Regions from separate parts of the Homo sapiens genome. Here all the other regions are linked to region 2. The links are contacts of gene promoters, found by promoter capture Hi-C in blood cells and fetal thymus (Javierre and others, 2016). All regions are on one chromosome and are shown on one strand. Each heading gives the region's core, a stretch centred on a gene start or on the middle of the fragment in contact. The rest is flanking DNA. Distances are from core to core; before and after follow the strand shown. Region 1 overlaps TRG-AS1 (T cell receptor gamma locus antisense RNA 1). Region 2 holds the start of AMPH (amphiphysin). Region 3 overlaps AMPH (amphiphysin). Region 4 overlaps AMPH (amphiphysin). Region 5 overlaps AMPH (amphiphysin).

Region 1 (2,700 bases), core at 1-2,500, 250 kb before region 2:
AAACAAAAAAAATGGCACAGGTCTGATTATTAGGAAGCTGAGGTTCTTTTTTATACTTAGTATTCACTGAAGTGTGAATTACCTTTCATGTCCTCTAAACATACCAACAAGGAGGCTGGAGTTAGGACTTATGTTAGAGCCAGCCTGCCTGGGGCACAGCCTGGCCCTGCCATTTATTGACTGTGTGACTTTGAGAAAGCTTCCTCATGTAACTCTATCTTAGCTTCCCTGCCTGTAATAAGTAAAAACAGCAACTACCTCATAGATTTGTAAAGATTACATAAAATAATACATGCAATGCATGGCAAACGACAGTCAACGAATGTTATTATTATATTAACTATTGCCATATTATAAATATAAATAAATATAAATGATATAAACAAACTAATAATAGTAATTATTCATTTATTCTTGACTTGAATGAGATCCTTGTGTACTTTAGACATTTATCCTTTGTGAATTTGGGATGGTACAAATATCTTAGGCAAGTCTATCATCTGTCTACCAACTAACTATCTCAAATATCTTTTCATTAAATATAAATTCTTAATTTTGGAGTCAAACTCTTTTTTTTTTTTTTTTTTTGCCCATATACTTTGGGTGTTTCCGAGTCTCATTTAAGAAAACTTTCCCCTCTCCAATATCACAGAAGTATTTTGCATTTTCTTCTCACACTCAGTTTCAAATTTTATTCCATGTTGATCCTGGGATTAGGGTTTCTGGACTTCCCTGAACTAATCGTTCAATCAGCCTCTTGTTCGTTCACTCAGCACACAAGTATACAAGATCCAGAAGTGAATACAGCATGCAGAGAAGGTTGGAGACAGTGTGCCTCTTGGTAGGGGAAATGAAGGGCTAGGGAGTATCATATTTACTCTAAATGTGGAAAGAATGTAGAAGGATGAGAGGACGGGGGATTTTGAGGATACAGGGCTTGGACTACGCCTGGGGGATGGGATTAGAGGCCAACAGGAGAGGGGAAGGCATCCCAGGAGAGGGGTTTTGCAAAACGGCAAGAAAGGTGTATAGCTGAGGGGGAGAAGGCGGGTGGGGTGCTGAGGAGACGCCTCTGAAGCAGGCAGTGGATGAATACTGGGGAAGAGGTGAAGTTCAGCTCTGAAGACCAAGCAGAGGCTCCTGGATCTGGTATGACATGCAGCAGATATTCATCATTTGTGTATGTGTTTCTGAGAGGGAGAGGCGAGGAGGGAGTGGGGACCTGTTGGGTACTTAAAATGGGTGGGCAGTAGGGTACGAGGAAGACAAGAAGTCAGGTGGCAAGGGAGACAACAAGGATCCAATTTGTCTTCTCTGTCAGTGTGAAGAACAGAACCCCGACTAGATTAAAGTGCAAGGTTGTATGTTTTGCAGGGAAATCATAGCAGGTGCCCCAAATCTGGAAAATGATGCACAAAGGAAGCTCCCAAGTCTTCAGGCCCAAGATTCTGAAGAATGGAGGAGCCCCTCAGTGACGCACCATGGAGGGGTTTGGAAGGAAGTCCCTCAAGCGTGAAGTCTAAATCTTATGAATGCGGTCCCCATGTACAGTAACTGACACTTAGCTGGTGCTTGATATATTTTAATGAACAAATGAACATGTGGACTTGGAAGCAATAATTGGACACTCCAAAGGCAACATTCCTTGGACAACTGGAACACAAATTGAAGGACAGGTCGCTATTGCCCCACCCCACTTCCAGCAACCACAGGAAGGAGGAAAAAAAATTAGGAACAGTAACAGAGAAGGAACAACAAGAGAGGTAAGAAAACAAGGAAAGTTCGTATCTTGGAATCTTGGGGGAGAATTGGAAGTTTGGTGGCATCTCCAAATGCCACAGACAGCACTTTGTGATCACTGGTAGGGTTTTGGAGAGCAGAGCATAATGACACAGAGTTTAATATTTACTGGTGGGAGAGGGTGTAGGGTATCAGCCATGTGGCAAGGTGCGTATGGACAAGGCACTCCTGGGCTGGACTGGTTTTACAGGGCATCAGAGTGCAGCAGGGAGGGAAATAAGCATGCAATTCTGACCCAACCCTCAAGAATCAAACAACCTGAGTGTTTGACCTGAGATCGGGGGGACTGGGAATTAACTGGATTTTAGGAAACAAAGATAAAATTTAGATTTCTTTGGAAAGAGCTTCAGGGTACCTACCTGGCCTTCCTCTCAATTTGCATAGATGTAAGGGTTATGTCTCAAATATCTTTTAAGTGGAAAAAGTCACTATTTGCTGCTGCTTGTTAAGTGATCCTTAAAAGGTATTACCAATGAGTCACAAAATATTTGGATGGAATATTAAGCTTATTCGCGCATGGTTTATTTGGCTTTATGAACAACTTATCAACCCCCTACTGTGTGCCTTGAAGAACGCTGCCCGTGAACATCCAGGCGGTCTCCTCCTGGTGATTCAGGACAGGATCATCATCAAACAGGGATGCACCTGCAGGGCTCAAAGATGAACAAAACCACCTGGATCTCCATTTTCTAAGTCTTCCAAGAGAATATTGGTCATTGTCTTCTCTGTGCTGTTACCAAATGTCCGATTCCATTTACTGAAGTCCTAGGAAAGTCTCACACCAGGAAGACGGTAGCTACAGCACTGTGTAGAAAAGCTGTGCGATCTGCTCATCTCCAAGTTCTGACACGTTTGTAAGGTTTTTAGTTGAGTTCCAAGTAAAAACCAGAAGGCAGCTGT
Region 2 (2,700 bases), core at 62-2,561:
GCCTGAGATTGAGATTGGGTCTGAAGAGGGAAATTCATTGCCATCCTGAGCAACATGGCAAATCTGACTTCCAGTAAAACAGGAAAACGCTAAACACCCCATATCCTAGGGACGGAAAATACTGCCACGTGAAAGAGAACACAGTTCAAGTGATACCAATCATGGGGCTCATTAGCCGGTGTTGATTTTCAAGTACAATGCTCAAGCTACAATATAAAGGAAATGTCCTTTGCTCAGGACACAAATGAAGACCTCAGGGCCGTCATATACAGCAGTCACCAGGGAAGCCAGGCAAGCCTGGTGCCTGGTACAACTCCCCTCCACCTGCTTTGGGCTGTGCTTGCTACGGACCTGGGTTTCATTCATGCACGTCTCTGGGGAAAAAAAATAAATTACTGTGCGCAATTTACTGAGGGACTTGCAAAACAACAGAGAACCCAATTTGTGCAATCTGGATTTTTTAAAATGCAATAAAAGGTCCTTCTTTGTGCAGAAATATGCAGAAAGGAACTATTAGGTTCAGGTCATATTTATTTTTGACCTTCTAAAGAAGGACACTGGAGTCAAAAGGGACACAAACATATAGACCAAAATTAAAAGTGTGTATATCTAGATCTCTGTTTTGAACTCCAGAACTCACCAGACAGCACTGTGTGATCACGATCCTACCCTATTGGTCCTGGGAGATTTTTGGTGGCTTCTCTGTTAAATCGTTCGTGTCTGCTGCACTTAAGTAGCCACAAAATCCCCCGCAAGAAGGAAGGCTGCTGCAATCTCCCGCCCCGATCTGCGGGCCGCGTCCCCGCGAGCTGCCTGCGGGCGCGCTGGGAGCCGGCCCGGGGAGATGCGAGCGCAGGGAGATGCGCTCTGCTCCGGGCGCAGCGGGCAAGCTGCCGCACCTCCTACTTCTGTTGCCTGGCTTGGGGCCAGGAGAGCGGCAACCCGGGGCCGGCTCCGGAGCTGGACATATCCGGCGTCTCCGGGGCCAGGGTCTGCGGGTCCCCGGCGCTGCGTCCTCCCGACCCGCTCCCCGCGGCGCCCGGGTCGCGCCTTGCGGCAGTCACCGAGCTGAGGGCAGGGCGTCCCAGCGTCCCTGGCCCCGGCCCCGCTCCGCAGCGCGCCGCACCCCGAGGCTCGGGCCCCGCACAGCTGCAGCCGGTGCCCTCCGGCCAAGCCCCCGCCTGGCGTCCCCGGCCCCAGCCCCGGCCGCCCGCCGCTGACCTTTTCCTGCGCGCGGTTGAGTCGCTTCTGGACGTTCTTGGCGAAGATGCCCGTCTTGATGTCGGCCATGGCTGCGGGTCCGGGGAGCTGCGAAGAGCAGAGCGCGCAGCGGGGCTGGCGGCGGCGCGGAGGAGCGGGAGGAGGAGCGGGAGGAGGAGGAGAGGGCCGAGCAAGGGAGGAGCGGGAGAAGCGGCGGGGAGCCGCGGAGCGCGGAGGGGTGAGGGCGGGGCGCGGCGGCGGGACCAGCTTAAAGCGACAGAGCGGGGGCGGGATGCGTCGGGACTGGCTGTGACATGGGGAGAAGGGGCGGGGGAAGAAAGAGAAAGAGGCCAAGAAAAAGAGAGGGAAAAGCCAGAAGCCAGATTGTCTCCTCGATGATAGAAGAGTTTCGAGAGGAGAAAGGGAACCAAGCCTAGCAGAAGTCCCTGGGCCCAGGGGCAGCTCGGGGGTTCTTTTAATGCAGTTTGTATTTGGGGAGAGTGAGGGGACCTGATTCTTTCCAGCAAAAAAAGAAATAGGGGAGACAAAAAAGGGAAGAACCCTAGGGATGTGGAAGCCAGCTGGATTGGAACTGCTCTGAAGTGGAGCTGATGGGGCTGGTCCCTTGCTGCTCCCAAAAGTTTCCAGCTAACAGAGGCCCCTCCATACACCCTGGGTGTTGCAGAAGAAGGTATGGAGGTCGCCCTACCCTCAGGAGGCTCACAGCCCAGTGAGGGGCCCTGGCTGGGAAACCAACGAAGTCAGAGCTGCAGGAGAGAGGCGTGTGGAGAGCAAAGCGGGGAGAGACCATCGCTGACACTTGTTTAAACTTTAAAACAAGAGTTAGCAGGGCGGGGAGGTCCGCGTTGAGAAAGGTCAGCTTCCGGAAGACAGGCGATGTGTTTTGGTCATCTCCAAAATTCCTGTGCTGGGCAGAAACCTTAGAATAGACTACTCTTCAAGAAATGGTGCATGGAACAGTCAAGTCCCTTATAGCTTCGCATCAACCATGGAAGACCCAGTCCCCCCTAACTTGTTGCTTCCTTGGAAACCTTTTGGCAACCTTAACAGGGACTCACCATCCCTATTATTCTTATTAATGCTTGGGAGAAGTACGAATAATAGGGATAAACCTGCCCTACACCTAGAGCTCTTGTTGGCTCTGACCAGTGGTCAAACTATTCATATTCCATTCTCACTGAGAGTGTGAGGAGAAGAAGTCAGGTGGTGCCCTGCAAACAGAGGTCAGAAGTGGTCACTCACAGTGAATCCTATGAGTCCAGGTGAGCATCCTACTGTACCTCTGGGGGAAACTGTTACATTGGTAGACCTCAGCGAGCTGCCACCTGGTGTTCACTCTTGTGTCACCCTGTAGTCCCCTCACCTTGATTCTAGAATGATGCTATGGCCAGCTTTAATCAATAAGATGTGGTGAAAGTGACGCCATGGTAATTCCAGTCCCCCCCCCACCCACCCAACCTAGAAACCAGGCAAGTTTTG
Region 3 (2,708 bases), core at 201-2,700, 180 kb before region 2:
TCCTCATGGCTGCATGCAAACAGACAGATAAACACACACACACACACACACACACACACCCATACACAAAATTTCTTTAATCATAACACAGTATTATAGTAAGCCAGATTACCATGAGGGCATAGAGATTTTCATCTTTTCTTCTTCTAGAGATTTTCATCTTTTATTCTTTCATTAAACATATTTTGAAAACCTTTACTATATCCTAAGTATTGTGCTGGACACTTGTGACTTCCCAATGAGGCAAAAGAGGTAGAGTAGGAAGCTTAAGACAGAGAGGTTAAATAAAATCTTTAGGAACAAGGCCAATCAGAAGTTATCTTTTATGTAATAGAAATACCTTTCATGTAAAAGTCACAATTTACAATTTCTAACAGTGAGTAAAGTTTTAGCATTTCATCAACAATTACAATGAAGCAGTGGCCTAGGAAAGTTTACCTTCGTGGTTAGAAGCTTATAACAAGATTGCTCCAGATGGGTACATTACAGTTAATGTGAGTCATATAGCACATGGACAGGGTTCAAGTGCTTTATATTGCAGTCTTAGAATGGAAAATCGTTCAGTCATTTAAAATGATGTTGCCAAGTATTTGTTCCACAAAGTTTATTGTAGTATACTAGTCCTTCCTTATTTGGAGGAGTTATGTTCCAAGATCCCCAGGGGATGCCTGAAACCACAAATGGTACAGATAGTACTGAACCCTATACACACTATGTTTTTTCCTATACATACATACCTATGATAAAGTTGAAGTTATCAATTAGGCATAGTAAGAGATTGATGACAACAGCTAACAGTAAAATAGAACAATGATAACAATATACTGTAATAAAGGTGAATGTAGTGTGAATGTGAATATAGTCTCTCGCTCGCTTGCTCTCTCCAAATATCTTACTGTTATGTAGTATTTTTGGATCATGGTTGACCATGGGTAACTGAAACCATGGAAAGTGAAACTGTGGATAAGGGGAGACTGCTGAACAGAGAATTAAAAGGATAGTATAATGCAGATCCCTTTACTCACAATCTAGACCTATCGATTGTTCTCTCACATTTGCTTTATGTGCATACCTATATTTACATAATCCTGAAATGCTCTAGGAATGAGTTGACACACAATAAACTAGACCTTCTAGGAAATTGTTTTCCTACTTTGTTTTGTTTTGACTTTGTTTTTTATTAGAACAAGTTGGTAGGCTGCAAAATCATTCCTAGTGTAGCACGTGGGTTTTGTTCATTGCTTTTACATATATTATGACTAATTGTATAAAGGCTGACAGTCATGAGAATAGAGTCAGCAAGGAAGAGGGATAGGGCCTATGCTTATAATGAGGTTCTACTCTGACTAGTGGAAAGACAGATGACTAAACTGGTTGAGTAAAGGCCCTCCTACCACTATATCATGGTATTTACCAATAATGCACTGATATGTAACAACCTGAAGAACTTTGCTAATATCAACACTCAAACGAGTTCTAGAGAACCTGCATCCTGGATACTAAGGATAGAAAGAGTGATATCGATTTGTTCATTTACTGAATGCCCGGTACTGCTCTCTTTCGGGTGCTTACAATGCTGTCACACATAGCCTACAGCATTCTGCTTTCCACTTCTGCACTAGGAGAGGCAAGGTTCAGCAGAAAGACGGCAGGTTTGCTCTTCTAGAAAGTAGGACTAATGACATGTAAATCACAGGATTGATGTCAAGGTTAAACTGAATGAGACCTTGCAGAAAGATATTTAGTAGCTTTCCCTGTTCTGTAGACAGAAAAAGCCTAGGCACTGTTAGCAGCTCTGGAGTCAGAACCTTGAAAGATAGTGAAGCCTAATGACCCAATGATTTTAAAACATTTTCAGAATACCAGATGATACATAAACTGCACTGCTTGGTTACTCCTGCTCAAGGAATGGAACAATGATGTTGGTAATCCACCAGGGCAATGAACTGACTAAATTTGGGCTTGAAATGCACTGTGTGGTTTTTCTTCCTTCTAATTTTCATCTTACTAATTCTTTCTGTCTTAAAATAATGTTAACATGTTTACTTTGAAAAATAGCAAGAGAAAGAAGAGGCAGCTGGTCCAGAAATATGTTATGTTGAAAAGCCAGTGTGGTATTTAGAACCAGGTTACAGATACCCAGTAAGTGAGAGATGCATATGTTCATAACTGCAGGCTGGCCTCTCAGGATTACATGGGTGAAAAAACCATTTCATGGACTGATTCTGCAAGTTGAATTCTATTTCAGTTCAATTGGCTAGGGAAAACAGCATGATTTAATGAACTTAACAAGTAAGATGCAGTATTAGGCTGGAAAACAGAGACATAAGGGTAGAAAAGCCAATGGTGCTCAATTGGTCCCAACACTCAGGATTGAAAGGCTGTGCTCATGTCTGCATGGGAGCATGGTAGGCATTCCTATGGCGTGATAAGCAGGGCTTGGAGAAATAAGCTTGGATGTTCAAGGGATAATTCCTCTGGATTTGTAAAGGGGAAATCTTTGATCAGAGAAAATATGCAATATCATAGTTGGAGAAAGATTTAGGAAAAATAGTTGGGGGTATCTGCTATGAAAAAATCCTGAGACAGGCAATATTTTCTTCCTCTCTGCCACTGGACACAAAGATAGACTCTGGCAAAGAGGGACCCTGCCCCAAGCCCTGAATCTAAGGGGACCGTCATGCTTTTGAGCACCTTTCTTACAGTTT
Region 4 (2,700 bases), core at 35-2,534, 220 kb before region 2:
GATTAGGACACACATTATCTCTGAGAAGCTCAAGGTTGAGGCTGCACAGAGTTTCTGTTTCATTTCAACTCCTCAGCCACAAACCAGGAACATCCATCAAGTCTAAGCATTCGTTGTGGGAAGTCTTTGTGTCCACTTGGACCCTAAGTTGTGACCCTAACGGCTTTAGTTAGATGTGATATGAGACGTGTTGATAAATATATTTTTATAAAACCTCCTCTTTTTAAAAGCATCTGGAGTAGTCAGGAGATAGACAGCTATGGCTTAAAATACCAGGATTTGAATCACATGTCACTACTTTCTAGATGTGTGATCTTGGTTAATCAATTAATCTCTTTGTGTCCGTTTTCTTAATCTGTAAAACGAGGGACCTGATGCCTAAATAATCCTATTTCACGGGACTGCTGTGAGAGAATGCATGACAATGCTACTGCTCCCTAGTATCTCTTATCACAGTATGGCCTTCTTTACTATCACCTTACTCTCTTTGATCATACTCCTTCATTTCAGGACACACACAGTAGTCCTCAAAGGCAGTATCTGAACTGCTTGAGCACCGATGCTGGAACACAAGGCAACTTGCTGGGGAAAAGGAAGGGATCTCTAATCTCAAATCAAGCACTTTTTCCTGATCATGTTTAAGGTCCAGCTCATGTCTGTGGAGGGCTAGCAGGAGGGATTCATGCAAGGGCCTTTCTATCGTGCAGGTGAGGGATGGACAGAACAGGAACAGGCAAGAAGTGAATGAGAACTCAGCACACATGGTCTAGGGGGTTGGTTCCATATTATCCATGGACTAAACAAATCCCAACACTGCCACCTGTAGGGGAAGAGGAGTGAGCCAGTAAGTAGAACACATCTGTAAGGCTCTTGTAGGTCTAAATTCTGATTTCTGGGGTGGGACTGGGCTTCATATTGGGGTGGGGCTTTATTATCTCAACAGAGTTGTCTTTTTAACATCTGAATGGGTCTGGTCTTACATAGGCTACCCAATTGTGTTGATGACCAGGAATGGTTTCAATGAGGGATTATGAATTGGGCCCAATACATATTCAGAAGACAGAATAAGAGTTTCTTATCCTGAAGCTAATGATAACTAGTCATATTAAATATATCAAGCTAAAGCTCTAGATTTAGTATGTGACAAAAAGTATACACCAAGGCAGACACAAAACCATCTTATAATCATGTGTTGTATGATTCCATTTATATCAGCTCTCTAGAATAGATAAATCCATAGCACATTGGCAGGTACCAAGGGCCTGGGGAGGGGAAGATGGGAGTCACTGCTTAATGGCTATGGGGCTGTGATTTGAGGTGATGAAAATGTTTTGGAACGAGATAGAGGTGATGACTGTACAACACTGTGAATGTACTAAGTGCCAGTTAATTGTTACTTGAAAATGGTTAATTTTATTTTATGTGAATTTCACCTCAGAAGAAAAGTACATGCCAAAAGTAATACTTAAAAGTCACTGGGCATCTATCACCTAAAAATGGCTCCTCAATAGTGGAAGAACAACCTGAATCTTGAGTTCATGTTCACATAGATTTATAACAACACTCTGAATAAACAATGACATTTATTAAAAAGTCTCACTTGGCCCTGTTTGAGATGGGGCTTTGGAAATCACACTCCAGAAGGCAGGGAAGATGCCGCTACTAGCAGTTGGTAGGTGGTTAATGAATACTTAATATCAGCCACATCTCAAAACAGCAGTGGCCCCATATTTCAGAGATGGCCACCTACAAACCCAGATCAACCTGCTCTGTGAGGTTGGGGGAACTGATCACTGTGTTGTTACTTTCACTTTATTCTTGGCTAATTTTATCTCTTCCCTATGACTTCCTGCAAAGACAGAGAGAAAGATCTAGGTTCAGTTACTTGTATCAGATTTGGATGTATCATGTTTGTAGATCATCTGCCCTTCTTTTTCCTTCTACAACCACATGGAAGGAGGACGCAGCTGAGAGGGCACTGCCAGTTCTCTGAATACTCACATCTCCTGGGCAATGAAGATAGAAAAATTCCCTATTCATTCACTGAGTATGAAGGTGCCTGGAAAAGGGGAAGTCTTCTTAGAAAGGACAAAGAATTTTGATGGGACACAGCTTGTTTGGGAACCACATGGAAATTTGTGTTGATGGAGATCTAACAGGGACTGGGTCCATTGCCATTTCTGACATGAGGCAACACTGGAAGAGGGGGCTGTTATCTTTGCCTCTGCTGCTTTCTCCTCCCCAGAGTACATATTTCACATGCTTCTGCTTATTTGCTTCTCACCAACTTTTCATGACGATGATAACAATAATGATATCACCAAACTGTCATTAACTAATAACCTCTGCACGACAGATGTTGAAACTGACAACATGTTTTATTTCTAAGCCCTCATGGGAAACTTTTAAGGTGATTATTATTAACTCCATTTTATATTTGAGGTAAGTGGGGCTTAGGTGTCACAGAGCTGTGGGGCAGAATGAAAAAACTGACATTGCTTTTGATCATAATAACTGGCTTGCTTTTCCTAAATATAAAAAAAGCCAAAGTATCTGAATGAAAAAAAAAAGAGAAGGAAAATGACCATATACATATTTGTACTTTAAGAAATCAAACTGCAGCCCCTTTAAGGACCCCAAGACTGCACTGTCAACTAACTAACAAATCAATGACTTAGAATTTGATGGGCATGGATTATG
Region 5 (2,700 bases), core at 2-2,501, 200 kb before region 2:
AGGGACAGACATCTTTTTGTTTTGAAGGGAGAAAGAAAGTGGCAATGTCAATTCAGAAGTGGCATTGCCCATGAATAGCTAGATCTATCGAACTTTCCTTTTTCTGCCTCACAATAAAAGAAGAAAACATACAACTTAAGTTGAGTTCTTAAGACCACATCACCAGGGCTTTTCTAAAACAAAGACCCTGCTCCAAGGGATATGAGGCTGTAGAGGTGTGTGACCAATCACCTAATTTCACAGCACCAATGAGACCACCACAAAGCTCTGTTTGTGACACTTTCCCAAGTCTAAATTATGGAGTAGTTATCCTTACACATCAGATTAGCTGAAAAAACATCAGTAATAACATCTACCTTTTATTGATACACACCAGACACCATGCTACATACTTTACAATTATCTTATTTAAACCTCACACAACCTTCCGAGGTAGGCATCATTACCCTTATTTTATAAATGAGAAAAAAATGATGCTTAGAGAGTTTTAGAAATTGCTCAGGCTGGCCGCAGTGGCTCACACCTGTAATCCCAGCACTTTGGGAGGCCGAGGCGGGCAGATCACAAGGTCAGCAGATCGAGACCATCCTGGCTAACACGGTGAAACCCCATCTCTACTAAAAATACAAAAATTAGTTGGGCGCGGTGGCGGGTGCCTGTAGTCCCAGCTACTTGGGAGGCTGAGGCAGGAGAAGGGTGTGAACCCGGGAGGCGGAGCTTGCAGTGAGCCGAGACAGTGCCATTGCACTCCAGCACTCAATGAAACAGCGAGACTCCGTCTTAAAAAAAAAAAAAAAAAAAAGTAATTGCTCAAAGTCTCAAGGTTATGAGTAGTAGAGTTTGGACTAAAATCCAGGGCTATCTGGCTCTAAAACTCAAGTTCTTATTAACCCAAGCTTCATTGAATACAATCACTTTTTTTTAAAATGGTACCATGTGCCAAGTAGCCCATCTCTTCCATTTTCTCATTCACACTTTCCTTGTCTTCTATTTAAGTGTGTGTGTCCTTCACTGCAACAGCTCCTTTTGCCACCAACCACCACAGAAAGAAACAAAGGGCCAAACTCTTGACCATTATTCAAATTATTGACCATTATTCACCCAGGAGTCTGGTCCACTGTACTCTTCCTTCACCATCATCTTCCGGTTCTGATAATGCTCAAGACTTTCAGTGGCCTAATGATCATTCTAGGGGACTATATCATCATTAAATGTATGTGTCTTCTTTCTGTTGCAAATGAAATAAAATATAACAAGGTTTCCAAATTTCTGGGGATCAAGATACATGAAAAAACAGAGTTATTAGTGGCTTACCGTCCATAGGTCCCAGGGCAATGTCTGAAAGCAAATAAACAAAAATACTGTTAGTTATACAAATCTAAAACATAAAAAAATGCTGAGGTGACAAAAGTTCTTGAAATCATAAGCATTTTTTAAGCATTTTGTACAGTACTGTTCAATAAAACTTTTTTTGGTGAAGGAAATGATCCATATCTGTGCTTATCCAGTATGGTAGCCACCAGTCACATGTGGCTATTGAGCACTTGAAATGTGCTAGGGTAACAAAACCACATTTTAAATTTTACATAATTGTATTATACTTAATATAAGCTTAAATGGCACTTAGCTTTGGATAGCACAGGTCTAATCAATCTCAACTTTCACTATGTGAGTAGAAAACTATATTTGAAACACAAATGAGGTTATTTTAATACACACACACACACACACACACACACACACACACACCTCATTAAAATGAAGTAAACAAGGTGTCCAAATTTTAGAGCTTGTCACATCTTTGAGGAAATGCAGGCCCTAATCACTGCTAATGCTATTTCCTTCCCATCTCATTCAAGAGGATGTAGGATGACCAGCTTAATGGTAAATGAGCCCCAGAAAAATAGTTCTTCAATATGTTAAATTAGATGATAACACACTGCTCAATGAATTGGTAATCATACAAATTGGCAGAGCACCCCCTAAGACATGAATGAATTACACTTACTACTGGTATTTTAATTATAAAGCTTATGAATCCCGGGGAGTGAGGCCAGATGGTTCAAATGGCTTCCACTATGGGTGAGGGGAGCAGGGAAGACTTCTCTTTCTTATTTCCTTTATGATTGAGAATTGCTGCTAAAGCCACATCCGATTATGCCCATGTCTTTGTGACTAGAATGGATCCACGTTTATGCACTTATTTTGAACTACTAAATGTCAACAGCAAACTAGAGAGCCTGGCATTGCCACCTTAAAAATATGATGGTTTTCGGTTGAGATTGCAGAGGCCTCATTTGGGCTCCGTATTATAGAAAGCAGGCCCTGTGGTTCTGATACCCACCCACCTGGTTGGGTCCCATTCTAACCGTTCTGCATGGCCTGCCTTGCATCTCCATGCAGCCTGCCTGGTCTCTTGCTTAGCATTTTCTCGTAGGATGACTAAGACAGGAGAGAACAGCTCCATGGAAAGCCACAGTTTTTTGTACATGGATCTAATATATGTTTTCTGATTATCTAGATGATTCTCATTTCATTGCTTCATAGCCACTTAAGAATCAAAGATCATGGCCGGGCGCGGTGGCTCACGCCTGTAATCCCAGCACTTTGGGAGGCCGAGGCGGGCGGATCACGAGGTCAGGAGATCGAGACCATCCCGGCTAAAACGGTGAAACCCCGTCTCTACTAAAAATACAAAAA

Evidence for each region. The method cuts DNA at HindIII sites, captures the fragments that hold promoters and counts their contacts. A CHiCAGO score of 5 or more calls a contact.
Region 1: a fragment that was not itself captured here is called in contact with the fragment with the promoter of AMPH in region 2 in 3 of 17 cell types (total B cells, naive B cells and M1 macrophages); the score reaches 5.3 in total B cells.
Region 3: a fragment that was not itself captured here is called in contact with the fragment with the promoter of AMPH in region 2 in 2 of 17 cell types (endothelial precursors and M2 macrophages); the score reaches 6.2 in endothelial precursors.
Region 4: a contact is called between a fragment that was not itself captured here and the fragment with the promoter of AMPH in region 2, in 6 of 17 cell types (M2 macrophages, total CD8 T cells, total B cells and 3 more). The highest score is 5.8, in M2 macrophages.
Region 5: a contact is called between a fragment that was not itself captured here and the fragment with the promoter of AMPH in region 2, in 8 of 17 cell types (megakaryocytes, M2 macrophages, M0 macrophages and 5 more). The highest score is 7.2, in megakaryocytes.

Annotation. Positions count from the first base shown.
Region 1 is chr7:38,378,254-38,380,953 of GRCh38, forward strand. It overlaps TRG-AS1 (T cell receptor gamma locus antisense RNA 1), which reads left to right. Exons shown (of 4, transcript NR_040085.2): 4 at 1-387. Among named protein-coding and RNA genes, the nearest start is that of TRG-AS1, 38 kb to the left of the region's middle. The HindIII fragment of the contact is 2,106 bases long and covers 198-2,303 here.
Region 2 is chr7:38,630,062-38,632,761 of GRCh38, forward strand. It overlaps AMPH (amphiphysin), which reads right to left and starts at 1,312. Exons shown (of 21, transcript NM_001635.4): 1 at 1,222-1,312. The coding sequence starts at 1,290. The HindIII fragment of the contact is 9,553 bases long and covers 1-2,700 here.
Region 3 is chr7:38,447,721-38,450,428 of GRCh38, forward strand. The region is part of intron 11 of AMPH (amphiphysin); the gene reads right to left. Among named protein-coding and RNA genes, the nearest start is that of TRG-AS1, 110 kb to the left of the region's middle. The HindIII fragment of the contact is 1,999 bases long and covers 452-2,450 here.
Region 4 is chr7:38,410,812-38,413,511 of GRCh38, forward strand. All of the region lies in intron 17 of AMPH (amphiphysin), which reads right to left. Among named protein-coding and RNA genes, the nearest start is that of TRG-AS1, 71 kb to the left of the region's middle. The HindIII fragment of the contact is 3,412 bases long and covers 1-2,700 here.
Region 5 is chr7:38,430,875-38,433,574 of GRCh38, forward strand. It overlaps AMPH (amphiphysin), which reads right to left. Exons shown (of 21, transcript NM_001635.4): 13 at 1,315-1,338. Among named protein-coding and RNA genes, the nearest start is that of TRG-AS1, 91 kb to the left of the region's middle. The HindIII fragment of the contact is 715 bases long and covers 895-1,609 here.